Regions from separate parts of the Homo sapiens genome. Here region 1 is linked to region 2. The links are contacts of gene promoters, found by promoter capture Hi-C in blood cells and fetal thymus (Javierre and others, 2016). All regions are on one chromosome and are shown on one strand. The core of a region is centred on a gene start or on the middle of the fragment in contact, and the rest is flanking DNA. Distances in the headings are between cores, read along the strand shown. Region 1 overlaps KIF21B (kinesin family member 21B). Region 2 holds the start of CAMSAP2 (calmodulin regulated spectrin associated protein family member 2).

Region 1 (3,538 bases), core at 235-2,734, 280 kb after region 2:
AGCAACCTCTGACCCCCACCCAGCCCAGGGCCCTCTCAGTGCCCCTCTGGCTGTTCTAAGAGGGAGGGGCACAGAAGACATTGCTTTCCTCCTCAATGTTCTCAATACTTTCTAGAGGGTAAAATGAAAGGCTAGGAGACCTAGCACACATGGGGTTCCGCCCTTTGGTGTGTGTGAGGTGGGGGGCCAGCAAAAGACTTGGCTGCCCCCAGAATATCCTTCCTGAGAGAGTGCCAAGGTGGAATTCAGGCAGGAAGACACATGCCAGGGATGGCTGCAGTGATCTAAGAAAGGGAGAATGTGGCTGGAGAAGCTCCCCAAACACAAACGATGACAGCACGGATTTAGGAGCTAGGACCATGGTGGTGCCAGGCAGCCCCATGCTGCTAAGCAATCCCATACAGGAGAATCTGGACAGCCTCAGCCCTGCCACACATCTGCACAGCACCATGTGCCTTTCCATTTTCACTTTCCCACATTCATGTTCACGGCCACTGTGTGTAGTAAAGCATTTGAAGAAACTGAGGCATAGAGACTTCAAGAACACAGCTAATTAGCACCTCAATTAGGAGGCAGCTTAGAGTTGCATGAAGAGCATGTGTTCACAACTGAGAATACCCTGGGTTCAAATCCAGCCTCCTCCATTTGCCACCTGTGTTTGTGCATCTATATGATGGGAATAACATCAATCACCTAGCCAGCTGAATGGGATGCTGTAGGCACAGAGTAAGTGTTCAATACATTATAGTGCTTAGCCACCTCCTGGTTCATACTCCTCTCCACCACACCATGCATTCTGCTCTAAATTAATATATTAATCAAAGGACTGGAGGTGAATTCAATTTACTAAATAGTTCACTAAAGCTTAAACTACAGAGACATCTCTTAGGTACACTTACATTAGGGCCCATTTTATTTTATTTTATTTTTGAGAAAGATTCTTGCTTAGTCACCCAGGCTGGAGTGCAGTGGTGCGATCTCAGCTCACTGCAACCTCCGCCTCCCAGGTTCAAGTGATTCTCCTGTCTCAGCCTCCTGAGTAGCTGGGACTACAGGCATGCGCCACCATGTCCGTCTAATTTTTGTATTTTTAGTAGAGATGGAGCTTCACCATATTGGTCAGGCTGGTCTTGAACTCCTGACCTTGTGATCCACCTGCCTCAGCCTCCCAAAGTGCTGGGATCACAGTCATGAGCCACTGCGCCTGGCCTAGGACCCATTTTTTTTAAAAAAACATTTTATTTATATTCAATTCCTCAGGAATCTACTCTGCATTTTGTTCCCTCCAAAGATTTTATGTCCGTCTTCCTCCAAGCCACTGCTCTTCACAAATGAACAAACCAGAACACAGCAGTTCCCATTTTCCAGTGGGTAAAACTGAGGCCCACAAAAGACAAACAGGGAAGGTGCCCCATGACGAAGCCAGTGGATGAATTGCATCAGTTCCTGCCCTGCCCTTTGCCCCCAGGGTTGCAAAAATAAGCATGCCAGGCACATATCACCTCTGCCACCTCCCTGGCCCAGGCCTGGGCCCCGCCTCACCTCCACTTGGAGGTTTTCAAAAGCTGAGATCCAATCAGGCAGGCAGGCTGGGTGGTGGAGGGGGAGGTTTCCGGGGCCTGTGGTTACTACACTCCACTTCCTTATGATGACATAAACCCTATTTCTGCAGCAGGAGGCCACCACCAAGATTCTCAGGTCTCCACACAGCCCACATGAGGCCCTGTATGGGCCTCAGTTTCTGAGATCTGTAAACTGGACACAGGTGGCATTGATTGGCATTGACTGGCTTTGGGACTCGGAAGGCACCCCAAATACCCATTCCCCCACAGTTTCTTCTGTCTTCTTCAGTCTTTCTCTCCCAAGCCACCACTGCTCTTGGTTCAAAATTCAGACAGTCATTGACCAAGATTTCAGAGTAGCCTAGAACTAGGGAAATAACTGCAGCTAGAGAACCCAAATGGGAGAGGGCTGGGGTGCAATCTAACATTGTCCCTTGGGTCCCTTGGATCCCCCCCAAACCCCTACCTATCCCCTACTTAACCCTGTAGTATCAACAGATGGATGCTGGGCTGGCCAAGCACCGCCAAGCAGACTAAAGGAAGGAAGCTTAGGGAAGCCAGGCAGAGATAAGAGGGGAGGGGGCTAGGCAACACTGAGGTCTCCCCTCATGGTGGGGGCTCAGAGCTGGGGACTTGAAAGGGTCTTAAACAAATTTGCCATGTGACTTAGCTTCCTTCCCCAATTTCAACTTTGCCAACTTGCATTTCTTAACAGCTACCCCTTTCTCGCCCCATTTGTCAGGCCTATATCTCTGCAGCCTGGGGCAGGTCACAGCTCCGCCCCACCTCTCTCTAGCCTTGCTACACACCTCCTCCCCCAGGTGACTGCCAGTTCTAGTCCAGCCCAGGAAGCTGAGAATCTTTACAGTACAAGGGGATTAATGGATAAAGGGATCACAGGGCAGGCTGGAGAGGCCAGCCTGGGAATCCCTTGGTGCAAAGCCGACTAGCCTGGGTTCAGGGACAGATGGGCCAGATTCCATCTAGCTGGGGAGGCCACAAGGTGGGGCTTTTGGGGTCTGCTCACCCCTGAACTTTCTTCCCTTACCCTGAGCCCCAGGTCCTGAAAGTTTCCTCCTCCGGCTCTCCAGGAGCCCAGGCCTTCACTGAAGCGTTTCACAGCCAGCCAGCTTCGATCTCTTCATCCCAAACAGATTGCAGGGCCAAGAGCCTTAGGCCTGGCACTTCTCACCTAGTCTAATAGCCCTGGGACCTCTCTCCTCTACACACACACACACACACACACACACACACACACAATCAGACCACACCTGTCTCATTCCTGGCCTTCCCTGTCTGAAGAGCTGGACTCCAGGCTCGCTATGTTATTCTCATGGAAATTCAGAAGGCACTTCAGTTGGATTCAAGAAAGGACTTCCAGAAAGTCAGAAAGACAGCTGAACCTGGCAGGAGGTAGTGAGCCCTGGGGCTGGACTAGGCCCTGGACAAGCCTTGCCCTTCCCATAAATGGTCTACTGTAGTGCAGCCCACCACCCAGTCTTTCAGGTGAGAGAAGTGATTTCTGGGGGTGCTGCGGGGGAGGATGGGTAGAAGAGGATCTAAAAACAAGGAAAACTCCCCCTACAGCCCATCACTGGTACCATCTGCTCTCCTTCCCAGCCCAGCCCAGCCCCAGCTCAGTCCTAAGCTCTCTGATTAGAAACTGGGTTCTGTCCAGGCATTGTCTGCTGTACACGGCCGGCTGCCCATTGAGGTCTGGCGTGTGCCGGGGCTGGGCGCTCATGCTGGGGTGGGAGGGGAGGAGTGGGCGGGGCCCTTACCTTCCCGGAGACCCTGAAAGCCTGACTTCTGATGCTCAAATGCCCCACCCCCAATCCAGATCAGCAACTGAAAGGCAAGGCGTGGGGGCACCCAGACCCCACTTAGGGCAATCTGACTGGGAACCAGAGATGACACACATGGTCCTGAACTGGGTGCAGAGGGCAGGCATGATCCCTTCTCTGCAGAAAGGGTCC
Region 2 (3,426 bases), core at 247-2,746:
ACAAAGCAAGACCCTGTCTCAAAAAATAATAATAATAGGCTGGGCGCAGTGGCTCACATCTGTAATCCCAGCGCTTTGGAAGGCTGAGGTTGGCGGATCACCTGAGGTCAGGAGTTCGAGAGCAGCCTGGTCAACATGGTGAAACCCCATCTCTACTAAATACACAAAAAATCAGCTGGGCGTGGTGGTGCGCGCCTGTAGTCCCAGCTACTCAGGAGGCTGAGGCAGGAGAATCGCTTGAGCCCTAAAGGTGGAGATTGCACTGAGCTGAGATCTTGCCACCACTCTCCAGCCTGGGCGACTTAACAAGACTCCGTCTCAATAATAATAATAATAACAACAACAATCACTTAAAAATAAAATTAGATAATGTATTAAAATGAGACGTGAGGAGCTAGTGATTTAAGTAAGCTCAGTATGTGTTAACTTTGATAATATTCACATGTAGTCCATTAATTGAGCAATTATACTATGGGGCTGGGCACCGTATAGCTGCTGGAGATATACCCTGTCATCATGTCATCAATGGGAAAAACCGACAAGTAACTGATTATTGCCACACGATGTGACAGATGCTACGACAGAAATAAGAACAGGGTGCTCCGGGAACAACAGGGGAGGCACCTGTGTGACAGCCCTGACTGGAAAGTTGTCAGCAGCTGTCAGGGAAGGCTTCATGGAGGAAGTGACTACTGTGGAGTTTGAAGGTGCAGTAGGAGTAAGCTGGGTGGACAGAGGAACCACCCTGAGCAAGGAGGTAGAGATCTGAGAAGGCATGCTCATTGAAGAAAATAGAGAGCAGTTCTGACAAAATGAAGCTATAAAGGCCTGTAGATGCCAGATCACAAAGGGCATTAGCTTGTTTTGTGAAAGAATTTATGCTCTTTTCTGAGAGAATGGGGAGGCATTGTTGGACGTGTGCCCTCTCAGAGATAAAATTTAAGTGGAGAGCACTGAGTTAAGAAAATATCTCGATATCATGAAATTAACACAGGTTTGGAGCCCCCACAGATCCTCAATCCTGGTTAAGTTCCATGTATGACCTAATCAACTCCACCTCTCTTTCGTGGACAATCAGCAATGACATCTACCTCTCAGGATTATTGCGAGGGCTAAATGAGATAGTGCAGGTCAAGTTCGCTGCAAAGTGTGTGTCACATAATGAACATTTTAAGTAAATATCAACTCTTTTCGATGAAGCACTGTGTAAGTAGAATACGAAAGCTATTGCCAGGCCTCTCCCTCCTCCCTCCCTTCCTTTTCCTCTCTCAGCAGTGCAGGCAGCAGCAGCCAAAAGCCAGGGACGTGGAGGATGTCCACTGAAGCGAGTACTCCAGAGCGATGATTAAAAGGCAGCCGCCCCGAATCCCGGGCGCGGGCGGGGAGCGAGGCTGGGCATGCTCAGTGGGCCGGAGACGGGAGGGAAGCGGGGAGGGGGCGGGGGCGGGGGCGGGGGTTGGGGGGGGTGGGTCGGAGCCGCGCGAAGGCGCATGCTCAGTCTCCGCATCTGCTCCTTCATCCAGTGCCGCAGCCGGAAAACCGCAGCGGCGGCGGCGGCGGCTGAGGGGGAACGATCCAGCGAGCTGCAGAAAGGGGGGCAGGAAAAAATTACAAGGACATTACTGATAAGACAGGAACTGAGAGCTTGGGATTCGCGGCCTCTCCCCGGCCACCACCTTCGCCGTCAGCAAGGGAGGAAGACCCGGGAGACGGCAGCGGCGACGGCGGCAGGGGAAGGAGGAGACGGCGACGGGAGGGAGCACAGAGGAGGGGACGGGCCGGCGGCGGCCTGTGAGCCGCAGTGATTTTGACGTTTTCCGCTGCTGCGTCTCCGGCGGGCAGGGGCCGGGCTGCGCTGGGTGGGCCAGCTCGCCCCGCGCTTCCCCCTCGTCCTGCTCGTCCCTCCGCCCACCCGGGGCCTGAGGGGTCTCCCCGCTCCGAGGGAAGGGGAGAGGGAGGCGAGGGCGTGCGGGCATCGCGATGGCGGGGACATTTTCCACAACGTGATTGTTGAAGGCTCCCCCCATCCCCCCTCCCTTAAAATTCCGGGCCCTTCCAGCCTCCACCCTCCCCCAAGCCCGTGTGACTAAACCGAGACAAAGGGGAGGCGGCCTCGCTCACACGCGGGCTCGCGGGGCGGGTGGCTCGGAGGGGCGCGGGCACGGGGCGGACCTCGCGCGGACGGACGGACGGAGACGGCGCCGCCACATTCCTATGCCCGGGAGCGGCGGCGGCGGCGGCGGCGGCTCCCGCGGGAGGCGGCAGGCGCGCGGCGCGGACAGCTGAGCTTCTCCTCCGTCGGCGCCCGGGCGGACATCGCCCGGGCCCCGATGGTTTGAGCTTGCTTCTCCCTCCCTCCCGACCCCCGTGGTGGCGAGGCCACGCCATGTGAAGGTTAGGGCCGGGACATCCCGAGGAGCCGCGGTGAAAGATGGGGGATGCTGCAGACCCCAGGGAGATGAGAAAGACGTTCATTGTTCCAGCCATCAAGCCTTTTGACCACTATGATTTCTCCAGGGCCAAAATCGCCTGCAATCTGGCCTGGCTGGTGGCCAAAGCCTTTGGGACAGGTTAGTGGTGTCACCCTTTCCCTCCCCTCTTCCTCCTGATGTGGTCCACATCTCGGTTTTTGTTCCCGATTCTCGAATCCCTCCCTCCCCGTGCCTGTCTTCTCGTACAGGTTAAGGGAGATGATGGGAGGCTAGGAAGAGAAAGAAAGGAGAAATAAGGAAAGCAGGTTTGGTCTTCAATGAAGGGCACGTGAATGGTCAGGTGGGATTTGGCCAGATTCCTTTTATTGGATGGCAAAATGTCCCCCCCATCCCCCAGTGAGCAATTTTATGTTTTTACATAGAGTGGTTTTGATTTGTGGTATTTTCTTCATTGTGTTGCGTACATTTCTGCCTCAGTCATAATTGTGATTACACCACCAAGAAATCTGAGTTGGTTTCTTTATTATTGCAAGAAGGTGGATGGTGCATAGTACTATATTGATTTTGACATTTGTAATGATGGCTGCTATTCAGGCTCCGTTGGATGTAAGGTGGCCTGTGTCGAGTGCAGTATTAATTTTTGTTGTCATTCTTTAAGGCTGTATCAGCCTTCTGCACGCATGTTAAGTTCTTATTAAATCAGTTATTTAAAACCAGCGTTCAGTTTGCTGACTGTAGGGTGCAGTTTTCATTTCATATTATCAGTGAGGCATATTCTTTTTTCCAAATGTATTTTGGCTTCATAAATTAAAAGAAACAAAAACTCCCTACTTTGGGAAGTTTTTTAATAGATGAGTTTTTCGAAGGCGTGTGCTGTTGACACAGAAATTGTATAGTACAGTAGCAGTTAAACACTCCCTCCATAACCCAGTCTTTGCAAAATAACAGGAAAAGGGCCTCCCGTTATGATTCTTTAGTGTTGCTTTAGGAGCCC

Evidence for each region. Contacts are between HindIII fragments. The CHiCAGO score rates a contact against its expected background, and 5 or more counts as called.
Region 1: a fragment that was not itself captured here is called in contact with the fragment with the promoter of CAMSAP2 in region 2 in 1 of 17 cell types (activated CD4 T cells); the score reaches 6.3 in activated CD4 T cells.

The regions. Positions count from the first base shown.
Region 1 is chr1:201,018,023-201,021,560 of GRCh38, forward strand. All of the region lies in intron 1 of KIF21B (kinesin family member 21B), which reads right to left. Among named protein-coding and RNA genes, the nearest start is that of KIF21B, 3.9 kb to the right of the region's middle. RefSeq lists enhancers at 1,419-1,713, 1,819-1,918, 3,449-3,538 and a silencer at 3,069-3,218. The HindIII fragment of the contact is 1,245 bases long and covers 863-2,107 here.
Region 2 is chr1:200,737,397-200,740,822 of GRCh38, forward strand. CAMSAP2 (calmodulin regulated spectrin associated protein family member 2) reads left to right here and starts at 1,497. Exons shown (of 17, transcript NM_203459.4): 1 at 1,497-2,570. The coding sequence starts at 2,432. RefSeq lists an enhancer at 1,127-1,206 and silencers at 1,847-2,206, 2,237-2,306. The HindIII fragment of the contact is 5,817 bases long and covers 1-3,426 here.